4 separate regions of the Homo sapiens genome follow, and all the other regions are linked to region 1. Evidence: promoter capture Hi-C in 16 types of primary human blood cells and fetal thymus (Javierre and others, 2016). All regions are on one chromosome and are shown on one strand. Each heading gives the region's core, a stretch centred on a gene start or on the middle of the fragment in contact. The rest is flanking DNA. Distances are from core to core; before and after follow the strand shown. Region 1 overlaps CAND1 (cullin associated and neddylation dissociated 1). Region 2 holds the start of CPSF6 (cleavage and polyadenylation specific factor 6). Region 3 holds the start of NUP107 (nucleoporin 107). Region 4 holds the start of MDM1 (Mdm1 nuclear protein).

What was found. Contacts are between HindIII fragments. The CHiCAGO score rates a contact against its expected background, and 5 or more counts as called.
Region 2: the fragment with the promoter of CPSF6 here is called in contact with a fragment that was not itself captured in region 1 in 1 of 17 cell types (fetal thymus); the score reaches 6.8 in fetal thymus.
Region 3: the fragment with the promoter of NUP107 here is called in contact with a fragment that was not itself captured in region 1 in 1 of 17 cell types (fetal thymus); the score reaches 6.6 in fetal thymus.
Region 4: the fragment with the promoter of MDM1 here is called in contact with a fragment that was not itself captured in region 1 in 4 of 17 cell types (total B cells, naive B cells, naive CD4 T cells and 1 more); the score reaches 7.2 in total B cells.

The regions. Positions count from the first base shown.
Region 1 is chr12:67,271,186-67,273,768 of GRCh38, reverse strand. The region is part of intron 1 of CAND1 (cullin associated and neddylation dissociated 1); the gene reads right to left. Among named protein-coding and RNA genes, the nearest start is that of CAND1, 3.1 kb to the right of the region's middle. The HindIII fragment of the contact is 1,853 bases long and covers 377-2,229 here.
Region 2 is chr12:69,238,295-69,240,877 of GRCh38, reverse strand. It overlaps CPSF6 (cleavage and polyadenylation specific factor 6), which reads right to left and starts at 1,309. Exons shown (of 10, transcript NM_007007.3): 1 at 1,172-1,309. The coding sequence starts at 1,231. RefSeq lists enhancers at 1-572, 573-1,153 and silencers at 617-836, 987-1,486. The HindIII fragment of the contact is 17,360 bases long and covers 1-2,583 here.
Region 3 is chr12:68,685,673-68,688,255 of GRCh38, reverse strand. NUP107 (nucleoporin 107) reads right to left here and starts at 1,278. Exons shown (of 28, transcript NM_020401.4): 1 at 1,183-1,278. The coding sequence starts at 1,190. It overlaps LOC100507250 (a long non-coding RNA gene), which reads left to right and starts at 1,397. Exons shown (of 3, transcript NR_038930.1): 1 at 1,397-1,519; 2 at 2,239-2,393. It also overlaps the pseudogene RPL7P42. The HindIII fragment of the contact is 6,312 bases long and covers 1-2,583 here.
Region 4 is chr12:68,331,091-68,333,673 of GRCh38, reverse strand. MDM1 (Mdm1 nuclear protein) reads left to right here and starts at 1,312. Exons shown (of 15, transcript NM_001354969.2): 1 at 1,312-1,446; 2 at 2,453-2,567. The coding sequence starts at 1,429. LOC105369819 (a long non-coding RNA gene) reads right to left here and starts at 1,043. Exons shown (of 3, transcript XR_945057.3): 1 at 1-1,043. RefSeq lists a silencer at 1,112-1,371 and an enhancer at 1,672-1,761. The HindIII fragment of the contact is 10,890 bases long and covers 1-2,583 here.

The DNA of each region.
Region 1 (2,583 bases), core at 54-2,553:
ACAGTGGCTCAAGCCTGTAATCCCAGCACTTTGGGAGGCCAAGGTGGGCAGATTGCCGGAAATCAAGAGTTTGAGACCAGCCTGGGAAACATGGTGATACCCATCTCTATAAAAAAAATTAGCTGAGTGTGGTGGTGCGCACCTGTAGTCCCAGCTACTCTGGGGGCTGAGGTGGGAAGAAAATCGCTTGAGCCCAGGAGGTTGAAGCTGCAGTGAGTTGAGGTGGTGCCACTGCACTCCAGCGTGGGTGACAGAGCGAGACCCTATCTCTAAAAAAAAAAAAAAAAAAGAAAAGAACTTAGTTACCTCAACCTACCAAATATTCAATATTAATATTCACAAATGGAGTGTCACATGGTTCATCCACATTAAAGCTTTCACTCTGGTATCAACCGAATCCCCTATCTATTGGCTACATTATAAGGTTTACTCTTTATTCCTTTATGGAACATGCATCCCTAGAGGTCCTTAAAATAACTATATACACTGGTACAAATGTTTTCTGGCAAAAAGTCTCAGTACACTCCAGAAGTGTTTCTTTTAGGGAGGAAGTGATGAGAAGCACTGTTCTAAGGTACTGTCCCAAGGAATGTTTCTTCATTTTTCTTCTGAAGGTTTTATTTGAATTGGCATTCATTAATAACTTTTCACTAAACCGAGGCTAGTAAGTAACAGGCACTATCCTAGTAATTAAGACACACAAATGCCTCCTCCTTTTTTTAATAAAAGAGCTCCTAGTCTCCTTTTTTTAAAACAAACAAACAAAAAACCCTGCATGGGTGGATGCGGTGCTGGCCTGTAATCCCAGCACTCTGGGAGGCCCAGGCGGGTGGATCACGAGGTTAGAAGATCGAGACCATGCTGGCGAACATGGTGAAACCCCGTCTTGACTAAAATACAAAAAATTAGCCAGGCGTGGTGGTGTGTGCCTGTAATCCCAGCTACTTGGGAGGCTGAGGCAAGGGAGTTGCTTGAACCTGGGAGGCGGAGGTTGAAGTGAGCTGAGATGGCGCCCCTGCACTACAGCCTGGCGACAGAAAAGACTCCATCTCAAAAAAACAAACAAAAAAAACCAAAACAACAACAACAACAAAAACCCTGCATATGGCAGAGTTCCTAATCTCAGCATTTCTCATCCTAATGCTTCCCCATTTCTCCTAAGTCTTAATATCTCATTTTTAAATAATGCACAATACTAAAACACAAAAGAAATATTACAATTTTTCAATAAATTGAGCCTTAATAGTCCTACAAAAAGATTCTTTTAAAATGCAGAAATTTCCAAATTTTTAAGCCTGCATTCATTTCTTTACCTTCTCTGTATTAATGAACTATGTAATTATATAAATAGACCTGAAATTTTATGCCTATAACAACCTTTTGTAATTAGTCATGTCCATGCCTCTCAGAAGTGAAAATGTAATCTCAAATTAAATAGCTTGCATAAGATCTTACAGTTCATAACAAAGAATCACACATGATTAGAACCCAGATCTTGTGACTAGGTCAAATTCTCTTTGGATTCTACCATGAGGATAATAAAATTTGCTCTTCATTTTGGCAGCATTTGTTTCTTCTCTCGTCCTTAGTACAGGCAGAGTGCTTTGCACATGTTGGTCATTCCATAATGTTAACCTTGCCCTCAAGATCCTTCTAGTGCTAGGTATTTTTAAAATATGTAGCCACAAATCTTGGTATTTAAGCCAAAATAAATAAACTTCTAATGAGAACAAGGCATCATTTTTTTAAAAAAGAGCAAATTAAAATAAATGCCTATACTAAAAATATGCAGAAAAAATTTCAAAATTCTTGACTCCAAACGCTCACTAATTAATTATTAAATGTCTGTTTAAACTAAACATATAAAGTGCTTTAGTTCCAAAGACTTGTTTATTAACTAGATGGCTACAGCGCATTATAAAAATGTTTTTTAGAAGACAGTTGATAAAAATATCTTAATGATGCCAAATTACTGGAAATCACGTACTGCTCCTAAATATACCTTGTTTAGCATTCACCAACTATTAGGAATATATCAATATTACACTAATCCTCCAGGAATTGTTTTGATTCAGTACAACCAAAATTCATACATAATCTTTACCAAATTCAGCAGTGACTGTCATTTAGTATCAGAGCACTATTTCTTTCATGTAATTTATTTAAGAAAAAAACAACTAGGTATGTACATGTTATCTTTCTTTCACAGGAAATTTAAGAAAGCAAGCTTCAGTCAATAATCACATGTATGGTATCACCACATAATTTCTTTAGCCTTTCTAAACTTATACAGGAGAATGACTAGTTGAACAAAATTGTATTATTATAAAGTGCTACCTTCAGACTGAAATTGACCACAATCAGAATGAAATTTACCACCTTTACAGGATGAGCCAAACTGACAGCAATGGGGAGGAAATCACGCCACACACCTCATCCATTACTTGAATTGGAAGCAAGCAAAGCCCCAAAAATCAAACGGCATTCCAATCCGTAAAACAACACAAAACCTTTATTTCCCCCAAGAATCTTAATTTTGGCCCTAGAACTACACAAATCTAAAACACACAAAACAAACATGTC
Region 2 (2,583 bases), core at 60-2,559, 2.0 Mb before region 1:
ATGCAGTAGATACGAACAGCAGGTTCAAACCTTAAACGTCACTAGCAACAAACGACATCTTTTGCAAGGATGCCCATTAACAGACATCACAGCCCCGCGTTACCTCTAAGCAACGTCGTTCAGGAAAACCTTGCATTCTCACTTTCGCTCAACCTTTCAAAAGGTAACACGGGGCCCGGGGGTGGGGGTGGGGGGATTTAACACTTTGTTTTCGAAAATAGGGTCTTATCTATAACTCTTTATTTTTAAACCACATCATAAGGATTTGGGGTGAACGTTCTTTCATTTTAATCACTATGAGATCTGTGGGTGAGCTAACATCTTTTTGTTCCATCCAACCATCGCGCTTCCAATTCTTCCTTTTGGTCCCCGGCCACTCATCTTCACAGGTATTTTCATCACAAAGGCCAACAACGACTGGGCTTCAAAGCACTGCAAGCCCTGGATTAATGAGGCAGGACCAGCGCACCGACTTTTATCTGTGGCTCCAAAAGTCAAAGGACTTGTTGCAAATGAGCCCGCACCTCAGTCGCCTTCAGAAAGTGTGAGGGGAGGAGGAAGGCGCCACGCCGAAACCTGTCGCAAACCCGAGAAGGAGAGCCCCGGGGACTGGGCGCGCGGGATACAAAGGGCCGTGAACGCGGCCTTCCATGAGGCGACAGTGCGCGGGCAGGGAGACAAAATGGAGCGATGGGAGGAATCGGAGCCCGAGCGGCAGCGGCGGGGAAGGGGCGGCGGCGGCGGGCACGCGCCCCGCCAGGGCTTCCTCCTCCGACCAGCGACGGGGGAGGGGGCGCGGCGGCGGCCAGTTCTCTCCGCCGCTTACACGCGGCCCCACCGCCCGGGCCTAGCGCGGCGGGAAGCGCCAGCCGGGTGCCGCCAACAATAGGGAGCGAGGCAGCGCCGGCGAGGGAGGAGCCGGCGGCAGCTGCACAGCGGCCCGCGTCCGCGCTCCGGGCCCCGCGGCGACTCGCCGCGCCCGCGGCCCGTGAAACGACGCGGTAGAACGAGGGGCGGGGGGGCGCCACGCCAGGGGTCGGCGGCGCGGCCCAGAGGCGGCAAGGGCGCACACTCTGCAGTCGCTTCGGCTCGCGGCCGCAGCGGGCCCCGGGTCAGCTTCCCGGCCGCAGCGCCGCCCGCGTCGGCGGCGGGGACCTGGGCTCTCACGTACCTGGTTGAACTCTTCGCCGACATCCGCGTAAATGTCTATGTGGTCCACGCCGTCCGCCATCTTCCTTCAGCCTCGGCCGCCGCCGCCGCCGCCGCCTCCTGCAGGTCTGCCCGCCGCGGCAGCAGCAGCGGATCTAGCGGCGGTGGGGGGGCGCTTGCGTCACTTCCGAGGCCCGAGGGAGGGAGGCGCGGGCGACAGGGGCCGGCCGGGGGCGGGGACTCTGCAGCCCAGCCGCTCTGCTGGCTGAGGAAAGGCTGCGCCTCTGAGGGCAGAGGACGTTTCTTTTGTGTCTGGGTGAGGCCCGGGAGTGGGGGCCAATTTTTTTGTCCTACTCGCGCATCCAGCTTAGCAGTGGGTCCCACCTGTTTCCACACACCGTCTTTTCACGTGGCCTCTGGCATACTCAGACGTTTTGTTAATATTTTCATTTATCCGTTGTTCTTATCTTTCTCACATCCAGGACTTTTAAAGGTGGAAGTTATATGTCCGTGCTTAAATGCAAAGTGTAACCCCCGGGCATTCTGTGAACGGCTTAAGACCAAAAACAATGTCTTGTTTCTGCATCCTCAGAGACCAGCAGAGTTTTATTTGCATCGTAAACGCTAGATACCCGTCAGTGGTTATCTTTGCATGCTGTTTATGTTGCCATTTCCATCTCTAATCTTCGTGGGCTTCTTTCCCCCCCACCTTCCTCTCGCATTCATTGCCATTCATTTTTTCTTCCTTAGATCTACAGTAGGTTGTCTCTGGCGTAGTTCAGATGCTTCTAACATGAATGCAGTCATCTTAGAGCACACCCAAGAGAGTGGAGGTATCTTGAGGCCAGGGGGGCTTCTCTCTCAGAATCCTAGAATGTCCCAACGGGAAGGGAACTGGAAAGGTGTCCTTAGGTCTAAACATCTCATTTTACAGAAGAGAAGACTGAGGCCTAATAGAACCTAAGTGATTTAACCAGGTCACATGGTCAATAAAGGTAGGAACATTCAGCCACGATACTTTACTCAAAGATGTCTCTCCAGTTTGAAACTTTCCCCTCCATTCTTAATTTCTTTTTCACTCATTAAAAAATATACTGTAGTAGAGCGTGTTTCCTGAGAAACTGGCCAGAAATCATTCATAGAATAACCCAAACAACATCTGTAAGGTTGGGCATCTCTAATCCAAAAATTTGAAATGCTCCAAAATCTGAAACTTTTTGCGCACTGACATGATGCCACAAGTGGAAAATTCCACACCTGATCTTATTTGCCAGGTCGCAGTCAAAAATGCAATCAAAACTTTTTTTCATGCACAAAATAACTAAAAGTATTGTATGAAATAATCTTCAGGCTGTGTGTATAAGGTATATGTGAAACATAAATGAATTTCGTTTAGGCTTGGGTCCCATCTCCTGGATAATTTATGTATATGCA
Region 3 (2,583 bases), core at 29-2,528, 1.4 Mb before region 1:
GTATGGGAAACAACCACATAGAAACAATTTTAAACGTTTAACAATTAAAATTAAAAACAAAAAAAAAAACCTTCAGATAGCTCTCTGGTCTATAGAAGTAAAAATTTCCTAAAATGATATTTACAATGTGACCCCAGTTTAGGGGTTCAGTCTTCTATTCAGCCACAAACATCACTTTAAACGTATACTGCATGTGACCACTGAGCTACACGTACTTTTTTTTCATATCCTAGCACCTCTGAATATGCTTCTTTTACAAAGACCTACATTTGCCCCCTTGAGCACCTGGTCAACAACTACTTACTCCTCAAAGAGCCTCAGGTAGGCTGGAGACACACAGATGCAGGTTGGCAATTTGGTTCTTGTATTTATTAGCTTCCGAACTTTCAGCAAGTTCCTTAACCTCTTTTAGTCTCAGTGTTATATATGAAAAAAGGATAACAGTACCCATCTCATAGGATTTTTCTTGTTCTGAAGATTAAATAAGCTAATAATATATATTCAACGCCTTTAGAACAATGGCAGTCACATAGTAGGTACTCAATGTTTGGAGTACGAATAATGTACTCTTATTATTCAAAGACCAGCTAGAAAGTTACCTTCTTTGAGGGGTCTTCCTGATAGTTACAGTGACAAGGAGACTTAATCGCCCCCAAACACTTACCACTTTACACTGCTTGGTTGTCTCCATTACACAACTAATTCCCCGAGGGGAAGGATCTTGAATAACTGATCTTTGTTGTAGGCGGCTAGCACAGTACCCAGATCATAGAGGGAACTCAGAATCTGATGCTGGCACTTGTAATCAGAAAGTCTGGGCTGAGATCCCAGTATCTTCACTGACTGGCTTTGTGATCTCAGGCTGGTCACTTAGCATTTCGAACGCCGCGCTACCTACCCCGCCCACCCCAGGAGCGAACAGTGTTGCTGCCCCAAAGCGCCGAATAGATCGCAGAACGTAGTGGGAAAGTAAGGGACTATTATGATCTGTACCCCACCCCGACGCACGCCAAGCGGCTTTTTCCCCATTTGTGGCCAAATTTCCCGGCATGGGGAAGGAGCCTTAGGGGAAGCACCCGGGACCTCCTTGGCTTCTTCTGGGAGTCTAGTTTCACCTATTTCGTTTCGCCAACAGGCGAGACGGGCAAGACTTCGGGCTCAGCTGCCACCATCAGTACTGACCTGTCCATGGCTAAAGCCTTTTCCACACACAACCAAAGTTGGCTGCAGTTTAGCTACCGCGTTTTAGCCTTCCCGCTCTCCGGAAGCAAGCCCTTCGACCCGGAAGCAGTCTGTCCCTAAAACAGACCCACAGAAAAGGGGTAGGGGAGAAGAAACAACGTTCCCATCTAGCGCATGCGCGACTTCAGCCTACAGGTGCACGCCCGGTGGGCGCAGGCGCAAAAGTTTGCCAATGTGTTCCTGGTTGCGTTTAGCCCAGACGCCCTGCGGCCGCTTTGCCTGACCAAAGTCTGTGGGCGTGGAACAGGCCCTGGGTTCTCCTACTGGGAAGAATGAAGTATGTTGATAGTCTGGAAAAATGTGAAGTCATTTCCTGGTATTCTCTGTCAGAAAGCGCCTGTTCTTGGAATTCAGATGCGTGGGCTCTGCCCCACACCTCGGGGATCTCTATCTCTCTGCCTACACTCAGTCCTTTGTTCTGTAGCCCCCTGCAGTTTTTGCAACTATTTTCCATAACTGCTATTTGTTCTTTACTTGGTGTTCTTTCCTATTAAGGAGAAAAAGTTCACCTGTATTAAAAAGTAGAAAGGCAAGCGTGAAATATGATGGTATTGCCCTCTATTTCAAAGTGCCGTCTAGGCAAAAAGTGGTGTATTTTGGTCTTGAAGGAGTCAGTCACATTTTTGTTTTGGTTTTTGTTTTTTCCAGTTTGAAAGTAGTGACTGGCTATTAACTGACCAGATTACAAAAATAATGTTAGATGCTTCAGTTTATCCGTTTAATAAGCCTGTTGATATAGTCTTTTCTGTTGCTGGCATTTATACCTTTTATTAATACAAAATAGGTAGTCCTTCATTCTCCCTCGTGGAGAAGATAATTTGAAGGATCACAGGAACTTGAGTTTTTCAACAGCATAGATCTCATGAATCAGATTCTCCAGTCAGATGATGCCATATTTATCAGGAAATCTAGCAATCAAAGCGTTATCTGTTAAGGTAATTTGTTTATTGATTTTGCCATAACCAATTTGTAGATCAGTTCATTTACTGATTTCAGGTTCAGGTACTCCATGTGATATATGGTTCCACAATCCTCAGCGTGTTAACTGAAGCCTTGTTGAGTTTAACAAAGCTGCCATTGAAGATCTGGGGAAAGTGAAGAAGTTGCAACAGAGTTTTGGGCTCACACCATTGATACATTTGATCCTTAAGGCAAGTGACAATTTGGGTTTCACAGGTATATAGAAATTGCCAGCTTTTCTTGCCATATATTTCTTGTGACAGTGCTGAGCTTTTTTTTTTTACTTCTTGCTTGCTTTTTTTTGGACTTGATTTTTTAAATTATGTTTCCTTCCTTCCTTCTTTCTTTGTTTTTTTTTTTTTTGAGACAGGATCTTGTCCT
Region 4 (2,583 bases), core at 63-2,562, 1.1 Mb before region 1:
TTGTTCCAGATATCAGGTGGCTTCTTCAAATGATTTTTAAGTATCTCGATGATGATGAAGAACAAAGACATCAATCAGGATTCAGGAAGACAGCTTTTGCGGAAAATGCTTAAAGGGAAGCATCAAGGATTGGTGTTGATATTTGAAAGTTTAAGAGTGGTATACTTTTATTCAGTCAACACATGACAAATGTAAAAGGCACTCATTTGTTGTTCCTGGAAGAAGCCTGGCAGCATTCCATTCAGACATCTGCCCTTTCATCGTCCCACTTTTTACTTATTGCAGTCCTTTCAGTCTGAATATTTCCTCCTGACGCATCTTCTGCCGTCCGAAATGACTCCCTGCTCCCAGATCCTGTAGCCCTTATTATTGACACCTTTCATTTAGAAATTTAGCACATGTCACATTACACCATTATTGAATAAATAATGAATAAATAAATAAATAAAGATGTATGTCCTTCCCAAGTATATCAGAGAACTATCTGGACAATTTCTTTCTTTCCCAATTCTCAGAATCAGCAGTATTCTGTCAAGAAACATTTATCGACGATGATGGCAATAGTCGATTAAAATCAGATGAAGTTTTATTTTTAAAAAAAGGTTGAGCGGAGAGACAAGGCTGAAGGTTTGGAAGTTGAGACAACCATCTTCAATAAACGTTTTCTCATCTAAGGGCTGTATGTACATCATTTTGGGGAAGGTAGAGATTGAAGGAGGAAGAACATCACTGGAGGAAGAGACAGCAGTTTGTCTTTCGAGTTTCAATAAAGTTTCAAAAATCTTGCCTAAGTTATATATTTTTTTGGCCTTTCCCTTTTGATGTGACAATAAACTGTAATGCGGCTGTCGTTTGTACGAACCGATATTCAGCAGAATAAATCTGAGCACTTTCAGAAAAAGAAGCGTTCGGTTTTCTCATAGATGTTAGCATGAAGAACACACTTTGACCTTTGATGCTGTCAAGCACCTGGGCCAGCGAGGCTGGCGGCTGGCGAATTCCACCAGCAAGCAGACGCATTGCTGCGCAGGACCCGGCGAACCAGGGACCGGTCCACCCAACCCAGGAAGGCACCCCCGGGGTCCCGCCCAGCCCGGTTCCGGGAGCCTTATTGGCCGGCCTTCCGCCCGCCATCTCTATCAGCCCCAGGGATTTGGCAAGGGAGGTAGGCGGCTCCCTTTCGGCCACTCATTGGTCAAATCCTAATGGAGGTAAGGCACTCTGCGAGTCTCTATTGGTCCCTAGGCTCCAAAAAGGGCGGGGAAAAACAGACCGACAGGCCTCTAGGCGGGAAGCGCGGAGTGCGCCGGCGCGTAGTCGGGGACGCCGGGCCGAGGCTTTGCTAGGGAACACTGTTATCGCCCCGCCCCCTCGGAGCTTTTTCTCCAGTTAACTGTCGGAGTAGCGGGGGCTCCGGCGCCGGGCGACATGCCGGTGCGCTTCAAGGTGAGGCTGGGGTCCCCGGGCCGGAATGTGGCTGGGGGGAGCCATGGCCGGGGAGGTGTGGAGCGCCGAGGTCACGCTGCTTTTCTGCGCTGCAGCCCTCTGCCCGGCGGAAGCTGCCAGCCCCAGGGCCTGCTCGAGGGGCCCCAGAATCTGCCCGCCGCCTCTTAACCTAGTTCCCTCTCCGCTCACTCACATTTGCAAGCTGCAGTGTGTCGAAGAGTCAGATGGTGCGAGACACATTTACTTAGGGGGACTCAAGAGGAGTGGAGATGGGAGGAGGTCCCTTTGCGAAGAGAACTAAAGGCGACTTCAGATTGGGACACCTGTGGCCCATTTAGCTTAGCATTTAACCCCCATTACCTTTAAAACTTTAGTGTATGTGGCTTTTAAAGGCTTGAGAAATGGGTTCTTAGTAAAGACAGCGTATAAAGAAATACACGTTTTTCATCGTTGTGCATTCTTAGCGTATGTTAAAAGTTCCAGGTAGCTGGTAGCTGTCAGGGACTAGCACCCTGCAACTTCACAGGTGGCCACAGCGTCCCACATCTCCTGACTCATTTATCTTAAAGGCGTGTATTCAGAATGGAAGGGGAGTTTGCCTTTTGTTGACTTTATCAAATAGCAAAAGGTCCTAGGCATGGTACATAATATTGTGTACTCGGTGAAAACCTGCGATAAATCTAGAATGATGAGAATTTAGATTGTCATTAGTTATCCGACAAGAACTCATGCTTTGGAATCAGATAATCAGTGAAAGGGTAACCTCTGAGCCTGGAATTCCTGGTAGCATCTGCCTCAAGTGGTGTTGTGGATTAAAGGATATAACACGTGTGAACTGCTTAGCACAGGGCTGGGTGAATATTAGCTCTTATTAAGGAGCTCGTCTGTGTTTAATTTTCAGTCTTAAGTCTCTTTTGGGAGGTTCAGAAATTATTTTTCACCGATGTCTGCTTTAAAACATCATTCATTAATTGGACTGTACTCAAAAGTGTACTTTGCATTACAGGGGCTGAGTGAATACCAGAGGAACTTCCTGTGGAAAAAGTCTTATTTGTCCGAGTCTTGTAATTCCTCCGTGGGGCGAAAGTACCCATGGGCTGGACTTAGATCAGATCAATTAGGTAAGTTGAGCAGGCT